6 separate regions of the Homo sapiens genome follow, and regions 1, 2, 3, 5 and 6 are each linked to region 4. Evidence: promoter capture Hi-C in 16 types of primary human blood cells and fetal thymus (Javierre and others, 2016). All regions are on one chromosome and are shown on one strand. The core of a region is centred on a gene start or on the middle of the fragment in contact, and the rest is flanking DNA. Distances in the headings are between cores, read along the strand shown. Region 1 has its middle 35 kb from the start of CAMK2B. Region 2 overlaps CAMK2B (calcium/calmodulin dependent protein kinase II beta). Region 3 has its middle 11 kb from the start of CAMK2B. Region 4 holds the start of NPC1L1 (NPC1 like intracellular cholesterol transporter 1). Region 5 overlaps NUDCD3 (NudC domain containing 3). Region 6 overlaps CAMK2B (calcium/calmodulin dependent protein kinase II beta).

Region 1 (3,179 bases), core at 99-2,598, 180 kb before region 4:
CTGAAAGAATCTCATTTCCCGTTTGCTTAGGAAGCTTAGTTTGGCAGGATATAAAATTCTTGGTTGAAGATATTTTTCTTTAAGAATGTTGAATATAGGCCCCCAATCTCTTCTGGCTTGTAGGGATTCAGCTAAGAGGTCCACTGTTAGCCTGATGGGGTTCCATTTGTAGGTGACCTGCCCCTTCCCTCTAGCTGCCCTTAGCATTCTTTCTTTCATTTTGACCTTGGAAAATCTGATGATTATGTATCTTGGGATGATGTTCTTGTGTAGAATCTTGCAAGTTCCCTGTATTTCCTGCATTTGACTCTTGACATTTCAATCAAGGTTGGGGACATTGTCATGGGTGATATCTTGAAATATGTTTTCCAAGTTGTTTGCTTTCTCCCCCTCCCTTTCAGGGATGCCAGTGATTCATAGATTTGGCCTCTTTACATAATCCCATACTTTTTGGAGGTTTTGTTCATTCCTCTTCATTCCTTTTCCTTTATTTTTGTCTATCTTATTTCAGACAGCTATTCTTTGAATTCTGAGATTCTCTCCTCAGCTTGGTCTATTCTGCTATTAATACTTGGGTTGCATTGTGAAATTCTTGTATTGTGTTTTTTCAGCTCTGTCAGATCTGTTACATTCTTTTTATACTAGCTGTTTCATCCTTCAGCTCCTGTATCATTTTATTGTGATTATTAGTTTCCTTGGATTGGGTTTTGCTGTTCTCCTGAATCTCAATGATCTTCATTCCTAGCCATATTCTGAATTCTATTTCTGCCATTTCAGCCAGCTCAGCCTGGCTAAGAACTCATGTTGGAGACCTGGTGCGGTTGTTTGGAGGACATATGACACTTTGGCCATTTGAGTTACCACAGTTCTTGCATTGGTTCTTTCTCATCTCTGCATGTGGGTGTTCCTTTAGCTGCAGTGTAGATTGAGTAGTCAATAAACTTCTTTTCTGGATGTTTTCACAGGGCCAAGGCTTTGTGCAGGGTCTTTATTTGAAGCTGACTTCTTGTTCTTGGTTTCACAAGAGGTATGTTAGCGAGGTATTTTTGGTGTTGAAGCTTTGGAGTGATCCAGTAGGTGGTGCTTTGGTGTATTGGTCAGTTGGTAGACACTTGCTGGGTTGTGTGGCTCCCCTGTTTCCTCACAGTTTCAATGCTCTGAAAGCATGGGTTCCTCTCCCCTCTGAGTGCTGGATCATGGCTTGGCACTCCTGGGCTGCCTGCTGCAGTTCTGGGGCAATCTCAGGATTTATGTTCCTCCCCCACCTTGGAGGCAGCAGAGGAAGGGATCTTAGTAGTGGTTGTGGCCAACAGTCTTTTGCTTGTTTCCTGGGGGCTCCGCCCCAGAGAGATGTAAGTCAGCAGTCATTCAGTGCAATCATCCCAGGATGGAGGGTCTGTGCTATGGTCCCAAGCTGGGGGTTCCTGGTCTGGTGATGAGTGGGGATGGGGAGGTGGAACCCATGGGAGACAGACTGGCCTCCTCTTCTTGGGTCAACTGTACCTTGTTAGAGGTGTGGATAAAGCACTTATGGTCTTTACTCTTTCATTAGTTTGAGGGTGGCAAGGGCAGTTCTACTACAGAGGCAGTGGCAGAGAGGCTTTCAGTTGCCCATAGGGTCTCTGTCCAGGAAGTTGCAAAGCTTCCACTGGTTTGATAGCCCCAGCAGCAGGTGGCTAGAGGCCCAGGTCTTGAGGATCCACCCAGTGAGGAGCTGTGGGAACAAGCATCCACCTAACAGTCTGGCCACTTTTCCATAGGGCTGCTGCAATATGCTGGGGGTCTGCTCCAGTCCCTAGGTACCTCAGATTTTCCAGCACCTGGAGGTATCAACAGTGAAGGCTGTGAAACAGCAAAGATGGCAGCCTGCCCCTCCCTCTGGGAGCTCTGTTTCAGAGAGGTACGGACTTGTTGCCAGCCCAAACGCACCTGTAGGAGGTGGCTGGAGACCCTGGTTGGGAAATCCACCCAGTGAGGAGGAATGGGATCAAAAACCAGCCTTAAAAAGCAGTCTGGCCATGTTTTCATACAGCAGCTGTGCTGTGCTGGGAATCCACTCCAGCCCCCAGTCACCTTGCACTCTCCAAAGCCCAAAGGGCAGAACGGCTAAGTCACCCAAACAGCAAAGACGAAGACCTGCCCCTCCCTCTGGGAACTCCATCTCAGGGAGGTTGGAAATCTCTGATAGCCAAGGGACACTGGTGGGGATAGCTGGAGACCCCACTTGGGAGTTCCCATCCAGTGAGGATGGGATCAGGGACCTGCTTTAAAAAAGCAGTCTGGCATGTTTTCATAGAGCTACGGTGCTATGCTGGGGATCTGATTTAGCCCACAGTTGCCTTGGACCTTCCAAAGTCTGAAGGCTGGAATGGCTAAGTTGGCCAAACAGCAAATATGGCGGCCTGCCCCTCCCCCTGGGAGCTCCATCTTAGGGAGGTGTAACACTGCTACAGGTGGCTGGCTGGAGTTCTAAGCCAGTGGGTCTTATCCTGTGAGGTGCCATGGAAAGGGAGCCTGCAGACTGTCACTGCTCAGCCTCCGGGATTCAGCCCCTTTCCTAGGGATATGTATGGGGGTCTAGCCTCCCATTTTGCTGGAGTTGCAGCTGCTTTTGCCGGGGAGCCCAGAAAATCCAGGTATCTAAGGTTCCGGGGTCTCTGCATGTGCCTGAGTGGCTGCTCTGTTGAAACTCCATGTAGCTCTGTGTGTCAGACTGAAGGCCCTGGTGGAGTGAGTTTATGAGGGGATCTCCTTGACTCCATGGAAGGATCCATGGCAGAAGTGTGGGTTCCCAGGGTTGCATATTCACTAAATGCTTCCCTAGGTTGGGGAGGTTCCCCCAACTCCATATCACTCCCCGGTGGGCCATTATCCTGCATTGCTTTTCTCCATTATCCATGGGTTGAGTTGTTTCCTTGATTAGTCCCAATGCATGTACCTGGATGTTTCAGTTGAAGGTGTTGTATTTACTTGTCCCTTCCATTCCTCTCCATAAGAGCAGCACATACTAGCTGCTTCTAGTCAGCCATCTTGGCCACCAGGTAAATAGATGTTATTTAATGATAACAAGATCAATCCACCAAGAAGGTATAGCAATACTAAATGTATATGTATATGCACCAAATAATAGAGCTTCAAAATACATAAATTAAAACTAGTAGAGCTGAAAGGAGAAATAA
Region 2 (3,179 bases), core at 66-2,565, 230 kb before region 4:
ATTAGCCTAGGGCCACCTGGAAGGAGCCTGTGGGAACTCTGAGGGGAACGCTGAGAGCTGACCCTTGTTGAATTTGTTTTCCTGTTTTTACCCACTGAAAGCTTTCATTTATTTTTCTGTGAGCTGTTGCTGCTGTCATCCGTACTTCAACTGGGGTTTTGGCCATTTTTTTTTAACTGGGGGGCCTCATTCTGTCACCCAGGCTGGAGTGCAGTGGTGTGACTGCAGCTCACTGCAGCCTTGATCTCCTAGCCTAAGTGATCCTCCCACCTGGGCCTCCCAAAGCGCTGGGATTCCAGGCCTTTTTGACCTATAGGAGCTCTTTCCATATGAGGGAAACCACCCATTCACCTCATGTAGCCCAAATGCTGGGAGGGCCTGCTGTGGCCTCACCCACACGGGATGTGCCCAGGAGGCATGGGGCAGGCACGTTCTTGTTCTGTTCCCTAACAGGAATGTGAACACTTTAAGCACAAGGCACGTCTCTTCTCCTCTTTGCCCCTAAAATCCAGATGTGCAGATGGCTAATTGCCGGAGCTGCCATCCTGACTCTCACCTGAGAAATTCCAGGGACAAGCTGAGCTGTGGGATGAAAGAAGTGCCCATGGTAGGTGGAGCCAGGATGCCAGATAGGAAGGCCCAGGTGGCTGGGGGAAGAGAGACAGGGCCTGCCCCATGCCTGTGTGTGGTGGCGCCCAGCATGGTGTCCTGCTCCTGGGTCCCCATCCCCCTGCCCCCGGCTCGCATCCCATGTCCCCCTCCTCTCCTCACAGCTTGCCTTCCCTGATTGGGAGCTGCTGGCCCTCCTCCTGTGCATCCCCCCACTTCCTTGGTCATCCCCTTCAGAACCACACTGCTGCCCTCTCTGAGCTGGATCCACAGGGACACCCGGAGGGCAGGACAAGGTTCCACCAACGTGTCTACTTTGGGAAGATGAAGGCAGGAGTGACATTACAGAGAGAGGGAGGTGCGGGCCCCCCATATCCCACCTTGTCCGGAGGGCAAGGCCCCGTCCTACTCAGGGAATGCAGACCACTAGCCCCAAGACTGGCCATGAGGCACAGAGAAGGCACTTTGCCCAGCAGCAGGCCTTGCACATCAGGCGGTGTGCGAGCCCCTCGTCTCTCCTCACAAGAGACCAGGGGCTGAGCAGACCATCCCTCCCCGGGGCCTCTGTCCATGGCCAGCCTGCCCTTTACTGCCTGCCAGCCGGAAGGCCCAGAAGGGTCCAGCAAAGGCACTGAGGGAACTGAGCTGCGGTGACCAGCCTGGCTTGGCTTAGCCCTGTCAGGGGGGTTGTGTCCTCAGGTCTGGCTAGGCTGAAACGGACCCCAGAGCCCTGCCCAGCACTGCCCGCCTGGCCTAGTAGGCTCCTACCACCAACGCGGATTCCACAAACCACTGCGACTGTGCTGTGCACTGTCCCAGAGGAGTGGGCGGGCACCAGGCCAGGCCCCAGAGAGGAGAGAGTGGTCTCACCACAGCCAGGCTGGTGCTCCTCCCTGCAGGGGGCTGGGACAAGGGGCAGTTCACAGCTGCCCAGCTGAAGCCGGGCTCTGGGGCAGGGGTCAGCCCACCCACCTGGGGCCCAGGCCATCTGCGCTCCTGGCCTGACGGGAGAAGGGACACAGACGGAGGGTTTAAGGCCACTGAGCTCTCAGGACGGCCCGAGTACCCGAGCTCTGAGCCAGCAGGAGCAGGAGGGCTGGGCTGCGCCTCCAGCCCCGGGGCCCACCCTTGCTGCGCCCCCATCTCCCTCCTGCACGTCCAGGGGCTGCCCTGGACCACATCAGGTCCCCAGCTCCGTCGCGCCCCTAAGCACAGGGCATGGGGAGGGCCCTCGGGAAGGACAGGCAGAAGCGGTCCCCATCCGAGGAGTCCTCTGACCCCAGGGTGCGGGTGTGGGCTGGAGTGCGGTGGGGTCGGGACTCTGCGCCCGCGGCGTCCCAGCTGTGGAAAGGACACAGCCTCCTCGCCCGGGCAGGAGCGCCCGCGGGGGACCAGTCAGTCCCTCACCCTAGCAGTGGGACCTGAGTGGATCCAAAAGCCAGAGACACCAGCCCATCGGAAGAAACTGGGGACGAGAGAGATTCCGACGCCAGCACCGTAGGGGCCGCACTCGGCGTCCGTCCGCGCAGCCTTGCAGCGACCTTCAAAGGCGGCGCTTAAGAGCCGGTCACGCCCCTCCTGGAGCGGCGGCCCGCGGGTAGTCACCGCGCCTGAGCAGCCAGAACCAGGCCGAGGCCGCGCGGCTCGCGAAGGACACGCGGGAAGAGCCTTTCCGCCGGCTGAGCCGTGGGCGCCACCGCCAGGGACCCCAGGCTCACCAAGCCACGCGCGGAACCGCACGGTGGCCGAGACCGGGCGGGGGCGGGGGCGCTTTGGGAGTTAGGATACGCTTTGTGCCCGCTTGCTGCTTTTTTCCTGCAAGCTGCGCATCAATTAAAGTACTCGGGTTTTTGTTTGGTTTCAGATCAATCAGATTTCATCCTTCGAAAGTTTTATTCTCAAGGAATGCAAAAGGATTTTGGAAGCTTAGAAATGTCCACGTAATCAGACTGTGGGTCACCTGCATGTGGGAGAGATGAGCTTTGGGGCAAGTCTCAGAAGAAAGAAATGGGGCTTCCACAGAACCACTTCCTGGGGCCGGAAGGGACTGGAGAGAGTCATTTGACCCAACCCTCCTGGTTCGTAAGTGGGGAGGCTGAAACCCAGAGAGTTACGTGGCAGCCCAAGGCCACACAACCCAGTGGCTATGTCATGCGCGGTGGGAGGGGGCCATGTATCATGTCCTTTAAAAATGTCCTTTGTACACCCGCATTCATAGCAGCATTATTCACAACAGCCAAGAGGCAGGAGCAACCTGCGTCTGTCAATAGATGAGCAAAATGCACACAATGGAATATTATTCAGCCTTAAAAAGGAAGGAAATGCTGACACAGGCTACAACATGGGTGAAACTTGAAGACATTATGCTCATTGAAACAAGGACAAACACTGTCTGATTCCACTTATATGGGGTCCCTAAAGTTGTCAAATTCATAGAGGCAGACAGCAGAATGGTGGGTGCCAGGGTGAGGGAAGGGAATGGGGAGTCGGTATTTAATGGGGACAGTTTCACTTAGGGAAGACAAAAACGTTCTGGAGATGGATGATGGTAACAGTTGCACAACAATGTA
Region 3 (3,252 bases), core at 232-2,731, 200 kb before region 4:
GGAGTGGCCCCAGCCTGGCCGGGCTCCTGCCAGGGCCTCAGTCCGGGGGCACGTTTGCCCTGCTGGGCTCCTGCCTGCACTTGGCCCTCCTCTGTAGCCTCCACAGAAGCTTGGCACAATGAACACAGCCCTCCTGCCCCCTTTCCCAGTCCCTGCCCCCATGTCCCACCTCCACATCCCCAGCCTGGCAGGCCACTGAGACTTAGGGACTCTGATACAGAATGGTCACAAAAGGGGACTCCCAGGGAGGAAAGAATAAATGGCCCATGAAGTGTATGGGCACGTGGTGCCCTTCAGGTGAACACAGCCAGGTTGGGCTGTGGCCTTGTTCTTTTTTTTCTGTGACCCCTCTCTGAATGCCCCTCAGTCTCTGGCCTGGCCGGGGCATCTGCCACACACCTGGAGGGAGGACTTCGGCTGGCGTCTCAGCAGGCTGGCCAGTGGGCCCAGACCCTCACAGGGGCCAGCTGCATGACAGCCAGCAGACTCAGGTAGAGCCTGAAGTAGCCCTGATAATGGGCTACTCAACCTACTCAACCTCCAGGCTACTCAACCTCCAGGCTGGGGTGCCCCTCATGCTAGCACAGCCCCTGGGGCCTGGAGGGCAATGGACAGCTCCTGCCTCCCACCTACTTAGGTTTCTACCCAGTGGCTCTCCCTCAGAGCCTCCTACCAGGACTGTGGGCCTCTGCAGGAATTGGGTAGGTCCGGGTCCCCTCCACAAGCTCCCAGGGATCTTCTAAACCCCTCCTCAACTTCCCCCTCCCCAACACTTCCCCCTGACCCCAGAGAGAAATTGCTAGGGGGCCAGGCCTAACTACTGTTTTACCACACCCTGGAAACTCCATATGTAGCAACCTCAGCTTTGTAGCCACTATCCATGCTAACAGTGCTAACAGGAGCTATCATGTATTGGCGGGGGGCTAGAGGACATCCATTTGGAATAATATTTCAGAATCAGGACTTGGTGGCCTACTGCAAGTGAGAAGTGAGTGTGGAGGGGCTGGGGCTGCATGGATCTCTCCTATTTTTCTATAATGGCAGGATAAAGGGAAAACGAAAAGGAGGAACAGGTATGGGGTACAGATATTAAATTCCAATTAGGGAGTGTAGTGTTTAAGGGCCTCCTAAATATCCACTACCTGCAGTATCAGTGAAAATATGGCCTAGAGGCCAAGATAAAGAGAAGAATTGAAGGCACAGGCGGGAGAATGATCAATAGAAGGAAGGATTGAGTTGCAGTCTAGTGAGTGTCACAGGAGGAGAGAAAAGGGCTCATAAGGGGTCTCTGAGGGAGGCGGCATCAAGGAGATGGTTTGAGGAAGGGGTGATTAAGGAGACAAAGAAAGAGCAAGTAAAGGGGCGGGGGCAAATCCAGGAGAGAAGAGTGTCATGGAAGCTGGGTCGAGAAGTCTCCAGGCAGAGAAACGCCAGAGGCTGGGTTGCAGTAGGTCAAGGAGGGCATGGACAAATTGGATGTGGAAACAAGCATCACCTTCTCCAGCCAAAATCACTTGTGACTTCCACTTCTAGCTGTTTTACCAGACTAGCCCTCCCACCAAAAATAACCATGAATCTGGACAAAGTACGTGAGGCAGCTGTTTTCAGGGAGTGCAAGACTCAGATCCCTGTGGGAAGGGACGCTTAGGAGGTGAGCCCCGTGATTGCTCCGTGCTCCCCGACAGAGTTTTCTGACTGTGGCACACGGCACCGGAGTCTGGGCAGGGCACGGGGGTCATGTGGAGCTGAAGAGGTGGAGCAGCGGGAGCAGTGGGCATGCGTGGAGCCAAGCATTGGAGAAGAGGGAGCTGTGCACGCAGGGGTCCCAGAACCCCACACAGGAGCTCTGCAAGTCCTTGACTGACAACTAAGCTGCACATACAAAGGGAAGAACTGAGTCATGCCAAATTAGAGAGGCTTAGGAAACATTTTGGATGTTCCGTGCATCTGCAGTAACAAAACATGAACCCTAAGTAAGGAAGTTCAAAGTCATCTGCCAATAATTAAATTGCCTACTAAAACAATAATCAACATTCTTCAGAGGAAGTTAACACAATTTTGAGTTTCACAATATATTAGCCACAAAATCTAGTATTCAATTTTTAAAAAAAATTGCCAGGTATATAAGGAAATAGGAAAATGTGATGCCCAGGCAAGAATAAAGCAGACTATAGAACAGTAACTTAATCTAAAATGACCCAGATGTTGGGCTTAGCAGACTGTAATGTGGCGATTATAAATATGTCCAAATAATTAAAGTAAGATATAGTCTTAATCAGTGAGTATATAGGAAAACTCAGCCCCAAAATGGTATCTGGATACAAATTTTAAAACTAAAAAGTATAATAATTGAAATGAAAAATTCACTGGAAGGCTTAATAGCAGATTGGAGATAGTAGAAGAGTCGATAAACATGAAGACAGATCAATAAACATTATCTGAAGATCACAAGGAAAAAAGGCTGAAGGAAAGTGAATAGAGCCTGCGAACCTTGTGGAATAGTATCACATAATCTAACACATACGTAATCAGAGTCTCAAAGGAAAAGGTGTAGTAAAATTGGGGCAGAACAAATATGTGAAGAAATAATGGCCAAAACATCCCAAATTTGATGAAAAACATCAATTTACATATCCAGTAGTCTCAATAAACTCAAATCAGGATAAACAGAAAAAATAACAACACTCAGACACACAGTTCTGAAAACCTAAGAAAATTCTGAAAGCAGCTGGGTTTGCTGGGAGGTATAACATTACTTACAGGGAAACAAGTATAAGAATCATTACCAACTTCTCACCAGGAACAATGGAGGCAGAAACAATTGAATGGCATCATGAAAGTGCTGAAAGGAAAAAAGCTTCAACCAAAAAGATACTCATCTAGCAAAAATACCCTTTTAAAACAAGGTTGAAATGAAGACATTTAGACAAGACTGAGAATTCATTGACAGAAGACCTGTAATACAGTCAAAGCTATGGACATCCTCCAGGGCAAGGAAAATAATACCAGATGGAAACTGAGATCTACAGGAAGGACTAAGGAGCGCTACATGGAGAGATCCAGCAGACACCATCTTAACCATGCGATAGAAGAGTGGGACAAGTCAGCATTGTGAGCCCCCGATATAAATGCTGTAGGAAGAACACAGCATTGCCTCTGCATAGTTGATGAAATTATTAAGGCAGTAATGTCATAAGCAAACTTTGAATGGATCTGTGGATTCAATGGTAATATCAGATAAAGATCAATTTC
Region 4 (2,822 bases), core at 217-2,716:
GGGACGCGCACACGGCTGCAGGAGTCATAGCTCTGCTCGGCAAAGCTATGCTGGTAGAAGGCCTCATAGGCCACCACAGCTGGGAGTTGTCCAGCCCCTAGCTGGGCCACGCGGGTCACATTGATGAAGAGGCTCTGATTGGGGCTGCACGTGTTGTGGCAGTGCAGGTTCACAAAATTGTCAGAGCAGGCTGGGCAGCGGGTGAGGAGGGCCTTGGTGATCGACAGACTCGCTTCCAGTGATACCAGCTGCTTGGCGGAGCAGCAGGCTTGGGTGTTGGGGCCGGTGTAGAGGCGGGGGCAGATCTTCTGTAATAGGATCAGGTGATCACCTGTGATCTTGCGGGCCGGCGTGTTGGACAGGCAGGACACGTTGGAGAGTGTCATGAGGCTTCCAGACAGCTCTGGGTTCTTCCCACATTCGTCATAGAAGGCGCAGTAGCCAGGCTGGTGGATGGTTGTGTAAGGCTCACTCTGGGCCTGCAGAGCACAGCAACATCACGCGTGGGCCCTGACACAGCTGGGTGCCATCCAGGCAGCAGGCAGCCAGGGAGGGTGTGAGGGTAAGAAGGACATGGAGCAGGGGCAGGGAAGCGGGGAGTGTGGGGAGTAGGAAGCCTCCTGGAGGCATGTGCCAGCCAGCCAGTGTTGGAGTGACAACACTGGCCTTTCTTCCTGGGGGTGGCCTGATAGACCTGCAGCTTAGGAAAGTCATGCTGGAGAGGCCAGAGATGGGTAAGGAGGCAAAGCTGACTCCAAGGTCCCGGGCTCTGCCCACGTCAAAGTCAGCCTGAGTCCCCACACTGTACACCACATCCAGAGGCCAGGGTCTCTCATGGAGAGTCTGTTCAGGAGGCCCCCCGACTCCCACCACCACTACCACCACCTGCTTGAGGCCAAAAGCTGTCACCCACCTCCCAGACACAAAGTAAGCGAGGAACTTAAGAGGTGCCAGCGCTGGATCTTCTCCCAGCCTCCAGAGTGCTCAGTCCTCCCTAGGTGATGCTCACCAGGTAACCCCATCCCAGCACCTCCTTGCCTCAGACCTCCCTCAACTGCAGGCCTGGACCCCACAGTAGGGCCAGTGACAGGAGGGACTTGGAGCACCCCAGTCCAGCAGCCTCTTTCACCCCTGTGTGCATTCAAGCCTGTAACCTGGAAACCCTCCACCTGCACCCCTCCTCTGTGGGGCCTGGCATCCCTCATGTGTCCAGAGACTTGCCCAGCCCGCAGGCCCTGAGGCTCCCTTGCTGTCACCCAGTAACGCTCGCCTGGTACACGGCTGGCCCCAGGGTCCCTAACTGGAGGCCGCAGGGGAGGTGGAGCCAAGCCCTGGGACTCACCAAGCGCAGGAGCAGGGCCCACAGCAGCCAGCCCCTCAGGCCGGCCTCCGCCATCCCAGGTCTGGGAAGGGGTCAGCGGGGAGCCAGGCCAGGCCTCAGGAACAGCCAAGGGCTGAACACACATTAAGGCAGCCTCCTCCCCTTCGATGACAACCCTGGCCTGACTGGGTTAGGGACCAATGAGGCTGAGCCCTGCTGGTTAATGATCCACCACTCCCACTGTTTGGCCCCAGTCCACAGGCCCCCGCTTTAGATGAGCCTCATCACGCAGGTGCTAGGGTCTCCACTCACTTCCCAAAGCGACCGAAGCCAGAGGGCTGAGTCAGCTAGGGGAGAGACCACGCTATTAGCCCCTAACACTGCTGGAGTTGGTGCCAGGGCCTGGAGGCACAGATGGGACCAGGCACTGGCTGGGACCCGGCCTCAGGAGCTCAGCATGGCCGAGGAACCTCCGCACCCTCCCTGGCTCAGCCTCAGACCCCAGCTCTGCCCTACCCCCTCTTGGGACCAGGGCCAGCAATGGGCTCAGAGGAACCCTCTGCACTGTCATCCCTAGCAACTGTTGTTAATTAATATTAACAGCCTGATAACGGAGGGGCAGGCAGGGTGGAGTGACGCAGTGACAAAAGTCCCCTCCTCCAGGAAGCAAAGGGAAAGAACAGCTCACTCTAGGGCCTGACAGTTGACAGAGACCCCAGATAGTGGAAGACTCTCCTTTGCTCACTTTGCTCTTCATCCCCTCTTCCCCCCGACCTTCTCCCTCTTGTCCCTTGCCCAGGCCTGTCCCACCGGTCACCCCTAGCAAGGGACAGAGCATGGCTGGGAGCCTTGAGCAGCAGCCCTGCTCCACCTGGGCCCAGGGGTGTGGTACACACTTTCTGCTCCCTCCTGATAGGAATCTTCAAGGCCTACCTTGGGTTCTCACTATCACCAGGATGGGCCATGACCTTTACCCCCATTTGGTAATGGGCCCCCATTACCAAAGCTGAGCTGCAGATAAGGGCAGCTTGTTGGGAACATCTCCTGCGTGGCCACCTACTGGAGACAGCTGCAGGAAGGGACCTGTCTCTAGTGTTCTGTGGACCCCTGCCTGATTCACAGGGGAGCCACCCAGCCTCATGCAGGAGAAGACAGAGGCTGAGAGGAAGGGGGCCAAGGCAGGGTCAGGCTGACCCCTAAGTTCTCAAGACAGCCATAGTGGAGAGGAAGACAGTCAGCAGCCAAGGACCTGCCCCTGTGAGTGACAGCTCCATCCAGCACCTTCCCAGCACTGCTCCCAAGTCCCTGGCCGGCAGAGGCGGACACCCCACCACCCATGAAGCTGCCTCTCTAGGTCCTCTGTTCCCGGTGTTGTCATCTAGTTCCTCCAGAAACAGATCCTGAAACAAGGATCCCAGTGCAAAGAGTTTATTGGGGAGATGACCCCAGATGACAGCAGTCGGTGAATGGGGAATGAGCCAGGGGATGGAAGAAAGCTGAC
Region 5 (2,841 bases), core at 328-2,827, 160 kb before region 4:
GGGCTGCTTGACCTCTGACCACCAAGGAGGGAGTTTCTCAAGGACTGGCCAGGTTCTGTGCTGACAACTTCGTGCTTTTCATCGACAAAGCGAGTCATGCTGTCCCTTCCCCAGCTGAGCTGGCTGCCAACAGGCCCAGTGGAGAGCAGATTTGAGGTGGGGGTGAGGTCTGTTCCCCAAGCGCAGTGTTCTGGGCAGTGAGTTCTCTGTGCAGCAGCTGACGCCTCTTGGACACATTTCCACACAAAACACTTCTCAACTGTTCTCCCTCCTGCACTCTTCAGGGGCAAATACGCCTCTCCTTTCTGGCGGGTTATTTCTGGCCCTGGGAGTATGCTAGGCAATTCTAAGGATTGCCTTTGAAACAGTCTTTATTCAGCCAAGTACTTCTCACACCCCTAGGTCCTGTCCCCAGGGGTGAGCAGGGTCAGAGGAGGCTGGAGATGGGGTGGGCACAGAGAAGGAGAGTCAAAGATCTGACTGAGGAAGAAGCAGGTGGCCAGCCACCTGGGAGACTTCTGTGTCAGACACGGCGTTATGTCCTGGAGGAAGCCCATTGCGAGGGCTCAGCAAAGTTAACAGCAGGTATGCACCTGGAGACCAAGGAGGGCCTTGGAGCCTGGTGGGCAAAGGTGGCCCTTCAGTGGAATCATTCCCAACTCTGCACTCACCCTAAGCTTTCCAGTAACTACAGAATTCCAGAACCTGTTTGAAAGGATGTAAGATCTATAGCTACATTCTTTTTCTCCCCACTGGTCAAAATCTTACAGGATTTCTAAAGCTGTATTGAGATCTTGCCCAGTGCATTCAGACCAGATGGGAAACAACCCCTAAGAATTCCCCATGCTGGTGTTTGCTGTGTACGTTGGCCTGGGACCTCAAGGCTAGAATGCAACAATAATGACCATGCACAGACAGAACTGTCTCAGCAGCAAATGTCACACGCAGACCCAGAACTGCTTAAATACCAATTTATTGCAAACCAACACCAAGGAGCTGGAATAGCTTTGCAGGCTGGACACCTCACTCTCCTCGGGCCCTGGACAAGGGAAATGAGTCACCCCGCTTTCCTCGGACCTCAGCTGGTGGGACTTAGTGGCTGGCCAAACTGCGGCTGTTGTGTCTAAAAAGAGAAAACAGGCAGGGTGTGCCAGCTCTGGAGACTGGGCCAGTCCAGGGTGGTGGCTCAGGGCAGAGAATCACCCACCAGACAGCGTGGCTCAACGGGAGCAAGGCGCGCAGGGACAGGCTCCACAACCACACCAAGCACCGCAGTGTGGCACCGGGACCAGATGCAAGTGGCTGTTCCTGCCATGGGGCCAATACCCAATACTATCCCTCAGTCATTCTTCCTAGATATTGGTTTGCTGTTTATTAAAGCAGGGCAGGGAGTGGGGAGAAATGCAACACAGAATATAAAATCAGGCAAAACAAACACTAGTCACCATGGAAGTGAATGACTCTCAAAGTCTCCCAAATAACAAGGTGTAGGGCATCTCACACCACTGCATCACTTCTGGAAGACTACCCACAGGGTGGGGGCTGCAATGGGGGCCAACTCGGGAACTATAGAGAAGAGAGGAGACACACACCACAAGACCTCCTTTCATTAGGCAGGAAAGCTCTTGTGGGACAGTGGTGTGCAAATCCTAGGACCTCAATGGGAAGAACTCCAGGAAAAAAAATGACAAGTCTTTCTCAGGACCCCTCATAGATGACAAGAATTCTGCTCCCCAGGGTCGAGATCTCTTTAGAGGGGCTTCACCAGCTCAGTGGCAAATATCAGACAACAAGACTCTCACATTCCAAAGGGGGTATCTAGGGCCTTTTGCTCTCCTGTGATGATCGGAGCAACATGTTTGGACCCACAGAAGACTTCCCAGGAATGCTTTCTTACAAGGGGTGTCAGCCACCACTGTAAACCAGAAACAAACCACAAACTTACTCTCCAAGAGAGCCCCCACAACCCAAGTATCCATAGAGAGTGTGCAGGAGCGGGGACCTTCCCCTGACAATAGGCCCTCTTAGCATCTGCGGGCCTTGATTCTTGCTGGCCGTGCATGGTGCCAGGGTGCACTGCCCTGCTGTGTGGCTTATCCATGCTCTGAGCTTGACAGACAGGCAAATGGACAGTGCCGGTGGCAGCTGAACCATACTCCCGGCGATGGGCACCCAGAGCCCCTGTGAGTACTTGGAACACAGGCCTGAGGACCTGTCTCATAATCTCGTCTTTGCACCTTGGCTGGAGTCAGTCAGCAGCCATGGCTCAGGGCATAGGCTTGGGGGTCCTGAGGCAGTGACCAGTCCCTGGAGAACAGGTAAGATTGGGCCATAAGTTCCAAGGAGCACAGTCTGGCACCTGGCACAGAGGATGGGAAGAGGGGAGTCTTCACTCTCTTCTGGTTCAGTTGTGGTGGGACAGTGTGCCTTCACGCCCCATGCAGAAATTCCTCCTCTCCCAGAAGCCCTTCAAGGTCAAAGCTTCTCAGGACTTGTGGCTGTCGAGCTCTGCTGAGCTGATGGACATGCTGTGGTCTCCTCCTGAGGGCACCAGCTCTCCACTCCTGCCCACACTTTGACACCGTGCACCCAAAGAGGACGTCTTATGGGGAGCCAAGCACAGCATGCCATGCGTGGTGGCCGGGCTTGGTTCACTTCAACAAGAACCAAAGCAAGGTCGCCACAGTCAGAGAACAGAATCCCCGCTGCATCTGGACCTGAGCCCAGAACCTAGGCTTTCTCCGAACAACTAGAACGTGCAAACAGGGCTCCAGTCTCCACTGCTCTGACCATGAGGCTGAGGCAGGCAAAGCACATTTATAAGGGGATGAGCAAGAAGAC
Region 6 (2,974 bases), core at 400-2,899, 250 kb before region 4:
CCACCACTTCCCCTAAAGAGCACCCTGAAAGGTGCTCCTCCCCATAATGGCTGTCCACCCGCACCCATCCTGCCATCTCCCCGGGGAACTTGGGCTGGCAGCTGCAGATCCACCTCTGTCTCCTCCCCTTCCTGGTGGTTCTGCCACTTGCCAGACGGCAATCTGTCACGGGAAGCCCCCTTGGAAGTGTCAGCCCTCTTGAGAAGTGGCCACAAACATGTTTAGCATGAGCCATGCAGGCCATGGCTGGGGGCCCAACATCTCTGACTTCTCCAAGAGCAAAGAAGCCAGCACCATCACCATACTCCCTTGCGACTCAGTGCTTGCCCGCCAGTGTTTATAAACATTGAGAGACAACACCGACAAAGAGCCTGGATCTGTATCATAAGCCTGTCCCTGCTGCCAAGGGCAAACTCCTATGCGTCCTTCAAGATCCAATGCAAACAGCTCCCCGCTTTCCCAGCTCACACAGAAAGTCAGCTTGGTCTTTAGATATTGCACCTCCCACGTTCCTTAGGTTAGTTTACTTAATTATCTACCTGTTCACTTTTGCCACTCCCCCTTCCAATGGCTCTCTATGGGCAGAGTGCCCTATACTCTGGACCTAGGTATCAGGCACAGTGCCTGGGCTGTGATATAGGAGCCAGAACTGACCTACAAGCAACACAGTGGGCTGTGGAGCATGGAGTTGCTGGGCCTCAGGGCTTGTCCAGCCCAGCAGTACAGGAAGAGCGGCCCCTAGAGTGTCCCAGCAGGAGGGGAGACCCACCAAGGCTTCCAGGGCCTGTGGGTAGATGGGTCTGTGCTACACTGAGGCCACAAGGCCCTGGTCAGAGCCAGGGGGTACCCCAAGTAAATAAGGCCTGGGGCTTAGGCTCCCCGCCTCTCCACCAGCGCACAGAGGCTCGAAGCCCGGTCTTCTTATCTGGAAGCACGGGCGGGCCTAGCAGGCGGCAGCATGGTCCTTGGGCTCAGCAAAGAATGCCTTGGATGACACTGCAGGTGCATAGGCTGATCACACGCCTGCCTCTAGGGTGTGGACCATCCCAGGCAGCTGTAAGGGCACAGCGGGTTGGGGCAAAGGCAGGAAAAAGCCGGAAGAGGTGCTCCTACGGGATCCCAGGTCGCTGTTCCTGTGGGCTGCGAATTGCATCTAGACATCAAGGTTGCCCGCATGATGGCCTGCATGGGACGAATGCTACTGAGCCAGGCTGAAAGCGATTTTGAATAACCTGTTCAGATCATGAGGCCCCCGGGCACCAAGCATATTATGGGGCTTTTAAAATCAAATAAAGCTAATTAAAACAAGAAAATACTCTTTGAGTCCTTGCTTTGTGGAAGGCTCTGAACCCTGTCTCATTTACAGTGGGATCAACAGTACCAGGGAAACCTGTCCTGAGAGAGAAGGGGAAGAATTAGTTCTGGGTGGGAATGGAGGCCCGGAACTACATGGCCTGTTTCTACGACTGCACCTGCTCGGGCACCTCCTTCATTGCAGGGGGGCTCAGGCTTCTCGCGCGATAATGGGGTGAAGGCCACCTGCGAGGAGAGGTGCTGAGTGTACCTCCCCTGACTGCAGCCACCCAGGGCAGTCGGTGTTTCACAGGCATCCTGTGGGCTCTCGGGGCTTCACAGGCAGAGGCAGCAGGAAGCGTCATTGTCTGCAGGATGCCCCATCCGCCTCTGTCTCCTCCTCGCATCCAGTCTATGGCTCCTCTGGCTCCACAACAGACTGCTGGTGCAGGCCCAGGCTTTCCCAGCTCTGAGCTGCCCCCCCAACCCTCGTGCCTGCCTCTTCCCTCCAGTCCCCACTTGCAACCGGCCACCAGTTGCTGACTATCCGTGGCTCCCACCAACCCCCACGGAGCTCCCCACCGCAGGTGGCTCTGTGGCCTGCCCCACTCTCCACTAAGTCATGCTGGTCGCACTGCGGCCCTCGCCAGCTGCCCGCACCTCTCCCCGGAGAGCTGGGAGGAGGTGTGTCCCTGAGCAGCATGGCTGGAGTTTGTGGGAGGGCCCAGAGAGCAGGAAGGAAATTTCGCCTTGCCCCCAGCAGGACCACACAACAGCCCCTCTAGGGCCCTCTCATGCCTCACCTTCACTGGTGAAGACTGGGGGTTACCAAGATTACCGGCTCTTGGGGTGCCAGTTAAGACACTTGGTAACGACACCAGGGAGGGAAGGTCGGACCCTGCGTCCCCACAGCCTATCCCGTGTGGTCACGCAGACCTTGCTCAGGTGCCCTCCCCAGCCACCTCACAAGGGCTGGTGACTTCCATCAGTAAGGGGGCAGTGATTGTCCCCCTACACAGAATGAGGTGACACAGGTACCAGCCACAACACAGTATCCGGCATCCAGAAAGAGCCGGCAGTGTGATTCTGCTCCCAGGACAGCATAGGCAGGGACCCAGGCGCCTGGAGTGATCGTGCATGTGATCCCCATGACAGGCTGCTGAGCTCCCGCAGGGCAGCGCTGGGCCACGCAGGATCAAAGCGGCCTCTGAGTCGGCCCACTCAACGCTTGGATTCCGTTCCCTTAGTGGAAATTTCAGAGGCAGCAGCTTCTCTCCCTGTTCCTCTCTCTGCCTCCCGCAGCCCATGTCCACACCATCCAGTTTCCTCCCCAAGTGCTGGGGCCTGTGCCACCCCAGCCAGGGCTGCCTGCATCAGTCCTGAGCCTCACCGGTCGGTTGCAGTTCACAGGCATGCGCACACACACATGTGCACTCTCCTCACTCAGATGTTGCAGAATAGGCTGGAAACGCCCCCTCAGATTCCCAACAACAGTGACAGCCAAGGGCCATGGGACCCCTTCAATCCACAGCAAGGCCACACGCAATTCCAGGAAGTTCTTAAATTTTAGAATTTTAGAAAGAAGCTGAGGAGCCCTGAGTAAAAGCAAAAGATCCAAGCCTGGCTGACCTGTTTTGTAAATCGAAATTTCCCATCCAGTTTTTGCGTCTGACGCTCCCCA

The links. Contacts are between HindIII fragments. The CHiCAGO score rates a contact against its expected background, and 5 or more counts as called.
Region 1: a fragment that was not itself captured here is called in contact with the fragment with the promoter of NPC1L1 in region 4 in 1 of 17 cell types (endothelial precursors); the score reaches 6.3 in endothelial precursors.
Region 2: a contact is called between a fragment that was not itself captured here and the fragment with the promoter of NPC1L1 in region 4, in 1 of 17 cell types (endothelial precursors). The highest score is 5.2, in endothelial precursors.
Region 3: a fragment that was not itself captured here is called in contact with the fragment with the promoter of NPC1L1 in region 4 in 1 of 17 cell types (endothelial precursors); the score reaches 5.8 in endothelial precursors.
Region 5: a fragment that was not itself captured here is called in contact with the fragment with the promoter of NPC1L1 in region 4 in 1 of 17 cell types (M0 macrophages); the score reaches 5.1 in M0 macrophages.
Region 6: a fragment that was not itself captured here is called in contact with the fragment with the promoter of NPC1L1 in region 4 in 4 of 17 cell types (M1 macrophages, endothelial precursors, megakaryocytes and 1 more); the score reaches 8.1 in M1 macrophages.

The regions. Positions count from the first base shown.
Region 1 is chr7:44,358,565-44,361,743 of GRCh38, forward strand. No RefSeq gene overlaps it. Among named protein-coding and RNA genes, the nearest start is that of CAMK2B, 35 kb to the left of the region's middle. The HindIII fragment of the contact is 584 bases long and covers 1,057-1,640 here.
Region 2 is chr7:44,307,709-44,310,887 of GRCh38, forward strand. All of the region lies in intron 1 of CAMK2B (calcium/calmodulin dependent protein kinase II beta), which reads right to left. Among named protein-coding and RNA genes, the nearest start is that of CAMK2B, 16 kb to the right of the region's middle. RefSeq lists enhancers at 1,178-1,781, 1,782-2,383. The HindIII fragment of the contact is 2,433 bases long and covers 100-2,532 here.
Region 3 is chr7:44,334,958-44,338,209 of GRCh38, forward strand. No RefSeq gene overlaps it. Among named protein-coding and RNA genes, the nearest start is that of CAMK2B, 11 kb to the left of the region's middle. The HindIII fragment of the contact is 2,748 bases long and covers 108-2,855 here.
Region 4 is chr7:44,539,864-44,542,685 of GRCh38, forward strand. It overlaps NPC1L1 (NPC1 like intracellular cholesterol transporter 1), which reads right to left and starts at 1,467. Exons shown (of 19, transcript NM_001101648.2): 1 at 1,343-1,467; 2 at 1-479. The coding sequence starts at 1,396. RefSeq lists an enhancer at 139-760. The HindIII fragment of the contact is 6,836 bases long and covers 1-2,822 here.
Region 5 is chr7:44,382,634-44,385,474 of GRCh38, forward strand. NUDCD3 (NudC domain containing 3) reads right to left here. Exons shown (of 6, transcript NM_015332.4): 6 at 1-2,841. Among named protein-coding and RNA genes, the nearest start is that of CAMK2B, 58 kb to the left of the region's middle. The HindIII fragment of the contact is 1,804 bases long and covers 676-2,479 here.
Region 6 is chr7:44,287,338-44,290,311 of GRCh38, forward strand. All of the region lies in intron 1 of CAMK2B (calcium/calmodulin dependent protein kinase II beta), which reads right to left. Among named protein-coding and RNA genes, the nearest start is that of CAMK2B, 37 kb to the right of the region's middle. RefSeq lists enhancers at 1,270-1,912, 2,609-2,974. The HindIII fragment of the contact is 7,022 bases long and covers 1-2,974 here.